Linked DNA regions of Homo sapiens: region 1 is linked to region 2. The links are contacts of gene promoters, found by promoter capture Hi-C in blood cells and fetal thymus (Javierre and others, 2016). All regions are on one chromosome and are shown on one strand. The core of a region is centred on a gene start or on the middle of the fragment in contact, and the rest is flanking DNA. Distances in the headings are between cores, read along the strand shown.

Region 1 (4,757 bases), core at 532-3,031, about 21 Mb before region 2:
AAACCTAAGAATTCCAATTATTTACAGATAACTGTATTATCAACCACTTAACTATTTTTAAAATGGGATTGTGGTTTTTCATGTCATAAAACCCTCTTTAGAATGTTTTACAAGTGACAATGTTAAGTGCCACACCACCAAAAAGACAGTTACAATAACTGTATGGTACGTACTTTTGTAACCAATAATACAATAAAATAAGTTAACACTGTAATTACCTATGACCAATTATCTTGGTTTTTTACAATAGTTTAGCAAAAAGTTCCTTCAAACTCAAATCACCTATGAAATTTTGGCTCAAAAATCACTTCCTCAATAGCAATTCTCCGTTATCATTTTCAAGGCTAAAAACTAAACCCCTAGGAGCTAAATCGCAAAAAGGAAAAAAAATGCAAAGTAGTCTTTCCAATTTAACTGTCAAACGGATCAGAAAGATTAACATTAATTACTACGATCGCCATTCAACAAACTGTATACATTGCAGTAACTCTGACGTGATAACTTTTTATAGGATGCCTGCAATAGCAGTTTGTAAGTATCTTTCGGGTACTCATGAACTGAGTCAGAATTAAAAGTTCAGAGTAGTTAGTACAGAGCCAGTCAAATGGCAAATAGGACCACACCATGAGATGTTAATGGTACTCCAAGATTCTTCAGGAAACAGAAATCTAGCATTTTCCAAGACGATTATGCACACCTGAGACTTTTGCAGCGAACCAGACTAATGCAAGAGGAAGGAAAGACATGCAAAACCCCAGACAAGCAAAAGAGAACAGCGCTACTCACCAGCAAACAATCCGAATTCACTTCCGATTTGGGATCCCGCAGCAGGTTGTCCATTTTTTCAAATCGAGTCTCAAAACTGTCCCCAGTCGACATGTTGCTGCTGCTGTGACAATGCCCTCTTACCAGCACCAGCAGCGGAAAGCAATTTCAACCAACTTCCTCCGCGGTGGGTTCGCAGCCGCGGGGCGGAGGAGCCGGAACCTCAGGGTCACCAGGTGCGCCCGGTTCCCCCGTCTTCCCCTCACTGAGGGGACCTCCGCTCTCCAGACCCCGGGCCGGGGGCAACAGCGACCCACAGCCGCTCGGACGCCCAAAGTCGCATCCCACCCGGCAGCCCCTCACGACAGCCGACAGCGCCGTCGCCACCAGCCTCGTCGCTCCGGCGAGGTGCTTCAGTCTAGCGGGCCCCGGCCGCCGTCGCCATGGAGGGGTCCCCGTCCCGAGATGGGCAGGAGCGGGTAGAGAAAGAGAAGCAGGGTGGAGACTCCCTCCGGGCAACAAGGGAGGGAGAAGAGGAAAGGCGAAAGCAAAGGGCGGGTGAGGAGCTGTGCCAGCTGCGGCCGCCGCTCGGGCCACGGGCCGGGCCCGCTCCGCTCAGAGGCGCTGTAGACGGTCTAGCCCCGCGTCCCCGGCTCTACTCGGCCCGGCCCGACGCACCGATCAGTCTCGGCCACGAGCTGGTCCACGCAGGACAGCCTCACTCTCCCATTTTGTCCCGTCGCTGCTGGGGCTGCTGCTACGGTGTCCGGTGGGGCAGGGCGAGGTCGATGCCCGATGGAGACTTAGCAGAGGAAAGGCTGGAGAGCGGGCGAAGAGGAAGACGATAGTTGGGTCCCGGCGGCTGCTGATGGGGGAGCTTCTGGGAGGGGCTGCGGTCCCAGCCGGGGAAAGGGCGAGTCGCGGCGGCGAATGCCTGGGGGGTGGGGCGAGGGGGGCTGAGAGGGACTAATATGTCCGCCTTCCTGTTCAAACAAACGGAGACCGCCGGGGCAGACTGCGCATGCGGGGCGCGGACGCTCGGAAGGGGAACCAGCCGGGACCCCGCGCGCGCGCGCGCACTCTGTCGCCTCCGCAGGGTGGGGTGGGGCGGGGCGGTGAGGTGGGCGGGGCCTTGCGGGCAGGCGGTGGAGAAGGCGGACCGCTGGGAGGAGCCGAGTGCGGGTAAGCAGCTGCCGGCAAGGTTCTCGCCTTGGCCGGCTCTGAGGAGCCATGCAGGGCTCTGGAGCGGCCTTGGAGGTCCGGACGGAGGCGGAGCTCTGGCTGCTTCTGATCGCTGTCCCGGCAGATGCCCCAGCTCTGTTTCCTCTGGGTTGCAGCCAGTCCAGAGACTTCTGACGAGGAGAGAGTGCTTGTTCTCCTTGTTGCTGTTAGGGTGGGGCAATAGGTTCTTTTTTAGGCAAGAAGCCTTTTCGTCGGCAGGTACCAGCATTGAGCACCAGTGGCGTTTGGTTTTCAGTGGTACTCCATGGACAGCCCTCCGCGAGCCCCGGCGTTGAACCCATTTACGATTCACTGGGAAAGTTCCGAAGCGCTGCAGCGCTCAGCCCTCCCACGCCAGGCGTGTGTGTCAGGGGAGCCATAAAATACTGACTCCGGAAGATACAGTCAATAGAAGTCAAGCTCAATTTAATTTTTTTAAAGGAAAATAATCTCGTAGAAAAAAATCAATATTTTTAAGTCGTTCGTGTTAGTTCTCATAACACCCCTACTGTAGTTCTCTCCTGGACGTGTAATGCTGCCGTTTCAATGTCAAAACATTCAGTGAAACTTAATTGTGATTTTTATCAGAACTAATGTAGGACATGAGAATAATGGGCATTTCTCCTAGTTCCGTTACTTCGTTGACTGTGGTGTGAGGAAAGGTGAAAGACTTGTCACTCACCCCCGCTGATAAAGTTATGTTCTTCACTGGTTTCAGCAGGAAATCTACCTTAATTTATTCCTCATCAAACTTTATTTTTGCTCAGAAGCCAAATTAAGGATCACTAGAAATAGAAAATGTGGATCTTTTACCCCATGATGGAAAATGCTACAGATGAACCAAAAAGCATCGGAGTAAAAAGCATCGTACAGCATCTGAACAGTCCACCAGCCTTACGATGTGAGTCAGAGGTTAGGAAAATCTTACACTGTTTGAAAAAATGTCTATTTCTATTTTCAATTTATTAAATACAAGAAATATTTAGATATAAAATCCACTATATATATCAAGATAGGACGTTCTTGGTTTATACAAAAATCATAACAAAGACAACTAGACAAACCAGGTATTTCATTAAATGCCTTTGCAGCGACTTTTCTTGGCTCCAGCATTTTAAGTCATGTGAATTAGACTTATTTTTAAGCATAGGGCTTAAAATAAATCAGGCAGTTGCCCTAAAATAAATTTCCTAAACCCTGCTTGTCTTTTTTTTATTATTATTACCATTTTTAGGTATTAGGAATTTTGTTGTTTCTCAGAGAACCGTGAACATTATGTTGCTTTCCATTTAGACACATACGAAAAAATACAAGTAGTTAAGACAATACATGAGTGACACTGATAAATATAAGTGGAAGTGATAACCAACCTGGCAGAACTACTAGAAATATATGTGGGGTCCATATATTTCTAGAAATATCTACTAGAAATATAGGTGGGGTCCATATATAGCTTACTTACCTACAAGGCTCTTCTGATTATTGTGACACATCACTAGTTATCTTCTGCCATAAGATAGATGGACTCTAAATCTAGTTATCTTCTGCCATAAGATAGATGGACTCTAAATTAACTTTTTTTTTTTTCTCCGAGGCGGAGTTTCACTCTTGTCTACCAGTCTGGAGTGCAGTGGCACGATCTCGGCTCACTGCAACCTCTGCCTCCCGGGTTCAAGCGATTCTCCCGCCTCAGCCTCCGGAGTAGCTGGGATTACAGGCACACGCCACCACGCCCAGCTAATTTTTGGTGTTTTGTTTGTTTTATTTTGTTTTGAGATGGAGTTTCACTCTTGTTGCTCAGGCTGGTGTGCAATGTCGCGATCGCGGCTCACCGCAACCTCCACCTTCTGGATTCAAGTGATTCTCCTGCCTCCCGAATAGCTGGGATTACAGGCATGCTCCACCATGCCCAGCTAATTTTGTATTTTTAGTCGAGATGGGGTTTCTCCATGTTGGTCAGGATGGTCTTGAACTCCCGACCTCAGGTGATCCGCCCACCTTGGCCTCCGGAAATGTTGGGATTACAGGCGTGAGCCACTGCCCTGGCCTATTTTTATATTTTTAGTAGAGATGGGGTTTCACCATGTTGGCCAGGCTGGTCTCGAACTCCTGACCTCGTGATCCACCCTCTTCGGCCTCCCAAAGTGCTGGGACTACAGGCGTGAGCCACCGCGCCAGGCCAACTTTTTTTAATAAAGAGGTCCTCACCTTTAATAGGGTGGAATCATATTATATTAAAAATTCCCTTCCATTAGCTGGGCATGGTGGCAGGCACCTGTAATCCCAGCTACTCTGGAGGCTGAGGCAGGAGAATTGCTTGAACCCGGGAGGCGGAGGTTGCAGTGAGCCGAGATGGCGCCACTACACTCCAGCCTGGGTGACAGATCGAGACTCTGTGTCAAAAAAATAAATAAATAAAAATAAAATAAAGTTCCCTTCCAACCTTAAAATTCTATCGTCTAATTGTGACTAATCTCTTCCAAAGTATTGTGGATATTTGAGATCACCCTTAAAATATAAAGTATGTTAAAATCCTACATGCAAGTGCAAAATACTGATACCATGTATAAATATAATAATAATATAACAAACATACTGAGTGCTCACCATGTGCTAGGTACTACTCCATACACTTTATACATAATCTCTTTAAAACTATGCCACAGATGGGGAAACTGAAGTGCAGAGAGAAATGTTGTTAATATTTGCTCAGACCCTGATTGGAACAGAGACAATCTAACTACAGAACTCCCCCATTCATAACTATGACT
Region 2 (5,222 bases), core at 1,534-4,033:
AGAGATGGCCTTGTTAATTGAATTCTGATACTCAAGTCTACCAACCAACACTTCCCTGACTTACAGTACAAAAGGCACTGAGAGTTTTGGTTTCTATAATAATTCTTTCCATGCTTCCATGACTTACCAAAATCTTGCTCCTTATTGGCACATTAGTTTTCCTTGATGTATTAACATATTTAATACAACTACAGTCAAGTTTTCTGAGATCCCTCTATAATACATTTTTAATGTTATTTTTTTCTCTTGATAATCTTTAAAAAGTTAAATCTATTTTGGGTTCTGTGAATGAATATCTTATAACTAAGTACTGACATTTGATTTTCATGCTTTTATCTGTGTTGTGTTTGCAACTGTTTTGGAAACAATCAGTATTACTTTAATTGTTATGAGCTAATGAGAAAAGGACAAAGTCAGGCTTAAAACAAAAAGATGTGTTGTAGGCAAGATAAAGCCAGAATACATCATGGTGGTTACACTCATGAAGAGTTCATAGTTATTTGAATAGAGAAAAAGAGTCTAGAAAAATGAATTGCCCTGTGGAATATAGCAGTATAGACGTGCTGAATTTCAAAGAATCAGTCCTGTAAGAGTAGCCAACACTATATTCCATAATCATTTTGCAAACAACAGTTTCCGTAAAAAATCCCACTATTATATTAAGATTGTTAATTTGAAGTTTTTATATTTAATTTGTAAATTTGTTTGGTTGTATATGTATATAATATTATCTTAGGTTTATACATTAAATACCATTACATAATGAAAGTAATTTATTCACCACTGGGATCAGATAATTTACTCCTTTACACATTGTCAATATTTTATTCAAGATTGAGGTTTCACATCAAACCTCACACTCATTGCTGGAGTTATGCCTTAAACAGAGTACTTGTGACAACAGTGTTACTGTTGAATGGCTGTGATAATTAGAAAGTTCAATTTGTATTGTTTGTTGAAATTACATTTCCTGTAAGTTCCAACCATTGGTGGCAGTTATTCTTAGGAACAAATCAAAGGTGCTCTTTTTGTTTAAACTTTAAGTTATAGGAGGATAACTATCATGTTTTTCTTTATTCTACCCAAATCCTTTTCTTGCCTCCATAAATATTTTTGAGAACTTATTTTGTGTAAAACATTCTGCATTAGCCATTTTTTTTCCTTTTCCAGGTTAAACAGCTCCACACCTTTCACCCTTTCTTGGAAATATTTTTTTTCTAATCCCTCAACATTCTAATTACGCCATTTTGCACATACTTTAGTGATGTCCGTCTTAAAATGCAGCACTTAGAAATAAAGACATAGGCTGGGCGAGGTGGCTCACGCCTGTAATCCCAGCACTTTGGGAGGCCGAGGAGGGCGGATCACGAGGTCAGGAAATCGAGACCATCCTGGCTAACACGGTGAAACCCTGACTCTACTAAAAAATACAAAAAATTAGCCGCGCGTGACGGCGGGCACCTGAAGTCCCAGCTACTTGGGGGGCTGAGGCAGGAGAATGGCATGAACCTGGGAGGTGAAGCTTGCAGTGAGCCGAGATCGCGCCACTGCACTCCAGCCTGGGCAACAGAGAGACGGGCACTCCAGCCTGGGCAACAGAGCGACTCTGTCTCAAAAAAAAAAAAAAAAAAAAAAAAAGAAATGACATAGCAGTTTGGGAGGCCAGGGCAGGCAGATCACTGGAGGTTAGGAGTTTGAGACCCGACTGGCCAACATGGTGAAACCCCATCTCTATTAAAAATACAAAAATTAGCCTGACTGGGTGGCGGGTGCCTGTAATCCCAGCTACTTGGGAGGCTGATGCAGGAGAATCGCTTGAACCCAGGAGATGGAGGTTGCAGTGAGCCGAGATGGTGCCAGCCTGGGCGACAATAGCAAAACTCCATCTCAAAAAAAAAAAAAAAAAAGAAATAAAGGCATAGAAAATGGAGACTTTCATTCAATATCATCATTAATAACCAGTAAGTAGGAAGTATTAAACTCAGCAATGCATTAGACAGCTAGCGGGGCAAGACACGGAAGTAAATGGCACACTGGTCTTACCTTCCAAGAGTTTTCAATCTAATTGGAAGGGAGTATTACAATTTTAGATTATAATAATTATAAAAACAAACATTATAGGAGCTCAGAGGGTTTAGAGATCTGTGTTCTGTAGTTATTACAGGAGGCCTCTAGATTCTAACTTGGGTTAGGGCTTGAAACTACATTGAATTTGAATATTCCCAGTTTAAACATGCACGCAAGTATTATGTCCAAAGTAGCATGAATACTGACAACACCAAACATGAAACCCAGATTTATTTATTCTCTATTTAGTCCTTTCCCTACTCTTTAGAGCAGAAAGAGAAAATCCTTGCTTGAGATAGCAAATTAGTGCTACACTTTTTGGGAAGGCCACTGGAATTTAAACCTGGCAAAATTCCAATTTTTGTGCTTGTAACCTGTTTAGCCGGCAGCCAGTGAAAGCTGTTATAATTCTTTTTGAATTGAATTTTCTTTCGTATTGTTTTAGGTACAGCTCAAGCTCAAATGATAGCGTCTCTTTTTCTTTAAAAAAAAAAAAAAGTGCTGTCAAGACAGGAAAACTGGAATGTAACCAGATTAGCCGTTTCCCGTATACATTTGCCCTTAAGCAAGATGGTGGGCGCCTTGTGCACATGCGCGGAAGGGTTGTTTCGGCGGGGAGTTCCGCCGCGTCGGAACTCGCTCCGGGCGTGGATTGGCGGCTTGCTGGCGGGGGCGGAACCGGAAGTTCCGTGTTGTGGGGCTCAGCTGGTTCATTTATGTTGTTTTTCCTGTACCTAAGTTCCCGCTGTAGGTGGTACCTTTGCAGACGGTGCGATGGGGGAAGCAGAGAAGTTTCACTACATCTATAGTTGTGACCTGGATATCAACGTCCAGCTTAAGATGTAAGAGAACACTCGGGACAGGGAGTGGGATTGCTGGGGCGTAGGGACGTGGGGGCAGGGGCCTGTTGGGAGTGAGAGGCAGAAAGTACGTGACTCGTCTCAAGGCCCAGATTGGGGGCGGCTGTGAGGGCTGTAGCCAGGGAGGCGCGAGAGAGTGGATCGTGGAGAGGGGCTCTTTTGGAAAAGGATTTAATACGTGGTCTCCGTGAGAAGCACAGCAGTAGGAATAGCCCTTAAGTTCCGCTGTATTTTACAGTCTTTAAAGTTTTTGCTGTTCAGCCTTTTGAGAGTTTATTACTATTTCATTGTAAATTAAGAAATCAAGTCTCGTCGTAAGTAAGAGGACGATCTTTATTTTGGAACGGGGCTTGTAGGGTGGAATGAAGGCTTCAGAAATTATGGAGAGGTAGACACAGGCAGATGCGATAGTTGAGAATAAGATGAGCACATGGTGTATTAGCACGGGAGGTGATAGAGGCCTAGAGTGAATCTTTGGGTAGTATGGCAGTGTTTAGTCAGGGAAGTTGGGAGTAAGTCGAAGATGAGGGTTCCAGTTTCAAAGGTACCAAGAAGATAGGAGAAAAGAGTCTTTGCAGGAAAACGTTGGGGCACCACGGCTGAAGTAAAGGTCAAGGGCGTGATATCTTGAGATGAGGATAATAGAACTGGTATAATGACGAGGGATGCACAAGACAGAGTTGGAAATTATGTCCCTTTTAAGGTGGTCATGTAGGAGTGTTGTCAAAGCTATCACAAATTATTGACCATAGCATCATCCATAATTAATAAACATTTCTTGTGTATGTTCAATTAATATTCAACAAATATGTGTCGGTCAAAGGCCTGCAGTAAGTGATAGATAAATTTTCTCAGTTGTCTGATGTACCTTTGAATGATCATTTCATTTTATTTTCAGAAGTCCCTTATTCGCTGACAAATACTTTACTTTTTAGTTTGTGGTGGTGGTGGTAAAAGTAATATGTCAACAACCACCTTGTACCTTTGTATGATACTTTATACACTCATTTAAGGTATTTTCCATAGCATACACCACTAGTAGTTTATACAGGATCAATATTGATAAAGGGCTTTCCTTCAGCTTGATGCTCAGTATTTCTTGGATATATGAATGCATTTTTTGAAATGTTTGAACATTAAAAATAAAGAAAAAGCCAAAAAAACCGGTCCCTTTTTTTTTTTTTTTTTTTTTTGGAGACAGGGTCTCACTCTGTCTCCTTTCCCTTTGGGATGACGTTCTGCTTCTTTTGCTTCAACTCTCATGCATTGTTCAGGATCATTTCAGACATCTATCTGGGGTACTAAGTCCCTTCCCCATGCCAGCCTAAGTACTCTTGAGACTCTGATTTATCTTACTGTAATGGGAAGAATATTGGCTTTGGCCTCCCTGCCCTAGTGTTTATTCTCAGCTCTGTTACTTACGTTGTGACTGTGGATAAGGAGTTTAGTTTATAAGTCTCTGTTTCCTCATTTATAAAATGAGAATATGGTGAAAATTATGTAAGAAAGAAAATATAAAATGCCTGGCACAGTATCTGATGTAATCTTGATGTCTAAAAAATGTTCCTCCCTCTGTGATAGTATCCTGTGCATATCTATTTATGACTTATACCACTGTTTTAAAGAAATGATCAGACAATGCATATGCATAGTAAAAGAAAAAAATGGAAAGAGTAGAATAAAAACATGCAGTTAAAAGTAAATTTTTTTCCCCAGAAGCAATGACTTAATATTTTATTGTAATACTGTATTGCTTATCTTTTCTTTCTTCTGGGCTTCTTTGTCCACTATGGTAAATGTTTCCTGAAAGAATAGATGAATATGTGGTCAACTTGAAATGAAGAAAATGAAACCAAGGCCTAGAAAGCTGGTGACTTCCAGAGGGTAGATCAAGGGTCAATGGCAGCGTTTAAAATTCAGAAGTATAAAATAGAGAAATGTGTTGATGAAGATGGGACTGATATTAGGTATGTTAGGATTTTAAGAAACCCTTATCATATATAAAAATGACATTAATTTCATATACAGGAAAATGTTGTTTAGGTAGCATACCTTAACACAAAGGTAAACTTTTTAGTACTTATGCATATATGTACATGCTTAAAGCATATATGTACATGCTTAGTACTTATGTATATATGTACATGCTTAAAAAATTCATGTCTGAAACATTGTTGGTCTTGTGCTTTCAGAGGAAGCTTGGAAGGGAAGAGAGAACAAAAGAGTTATAAAGCTGTCCTGGAAGACCCAATGTTGAAGTTCTCAGGACTATATCAAGAGACATGCTCTGATCTT

What was found. Contacts are between HindIII fragments. The CHiCAGO score rates a contact against its expected background, and 5 or more counts as called.
Region 1: the fragment with the promoter of ROCK1 here is called in contact with the fragment with the promoter of PIK3C3 in region 2 in 1 of 17 cell types (neutrophils); the score reaches 6.7 in neutrophils.

Annotation. Positions count from the first base shown.
Region 1 is chr18:21,110,032-21,114,788 of GRCh38, forward strand. It overlaps ROCK1 (Rho associated coiled-coil containing protein kinase 1), which reads right to left and starts at 1,782. Exons shown (of 33, transcript NM_005406.3): 1 at 787-1,782. The coding sequence starts at 879. RefSeq lists enhancers at 1,435-2,023, 1,677-1,971, 2,071-2,290, 2,321-2,380 and a silencer at 1,641-2,030. The HindIII fragment of the contact is 6,843 bases long and covers 1-4,757 here.
Region 2 is chr18:41,952,451-41,957,672 of GRCh38, forward strand. It overlaps PIK3C3 (phosphatidylinositol 3-kinase catalytic subunit type 3), which reads left to right and starts at 2,784. Exons shown (of 25, transcript NM_002647.4): 1 at 2,784-2,909; 2 at 5,120-5,222. The coding sequence starts at 2,842. RefSeq lists an enhancer at 2,562-2,741. The HindIII fragment of the contact is 3,603 bases long and covers 1,521-5,123 here.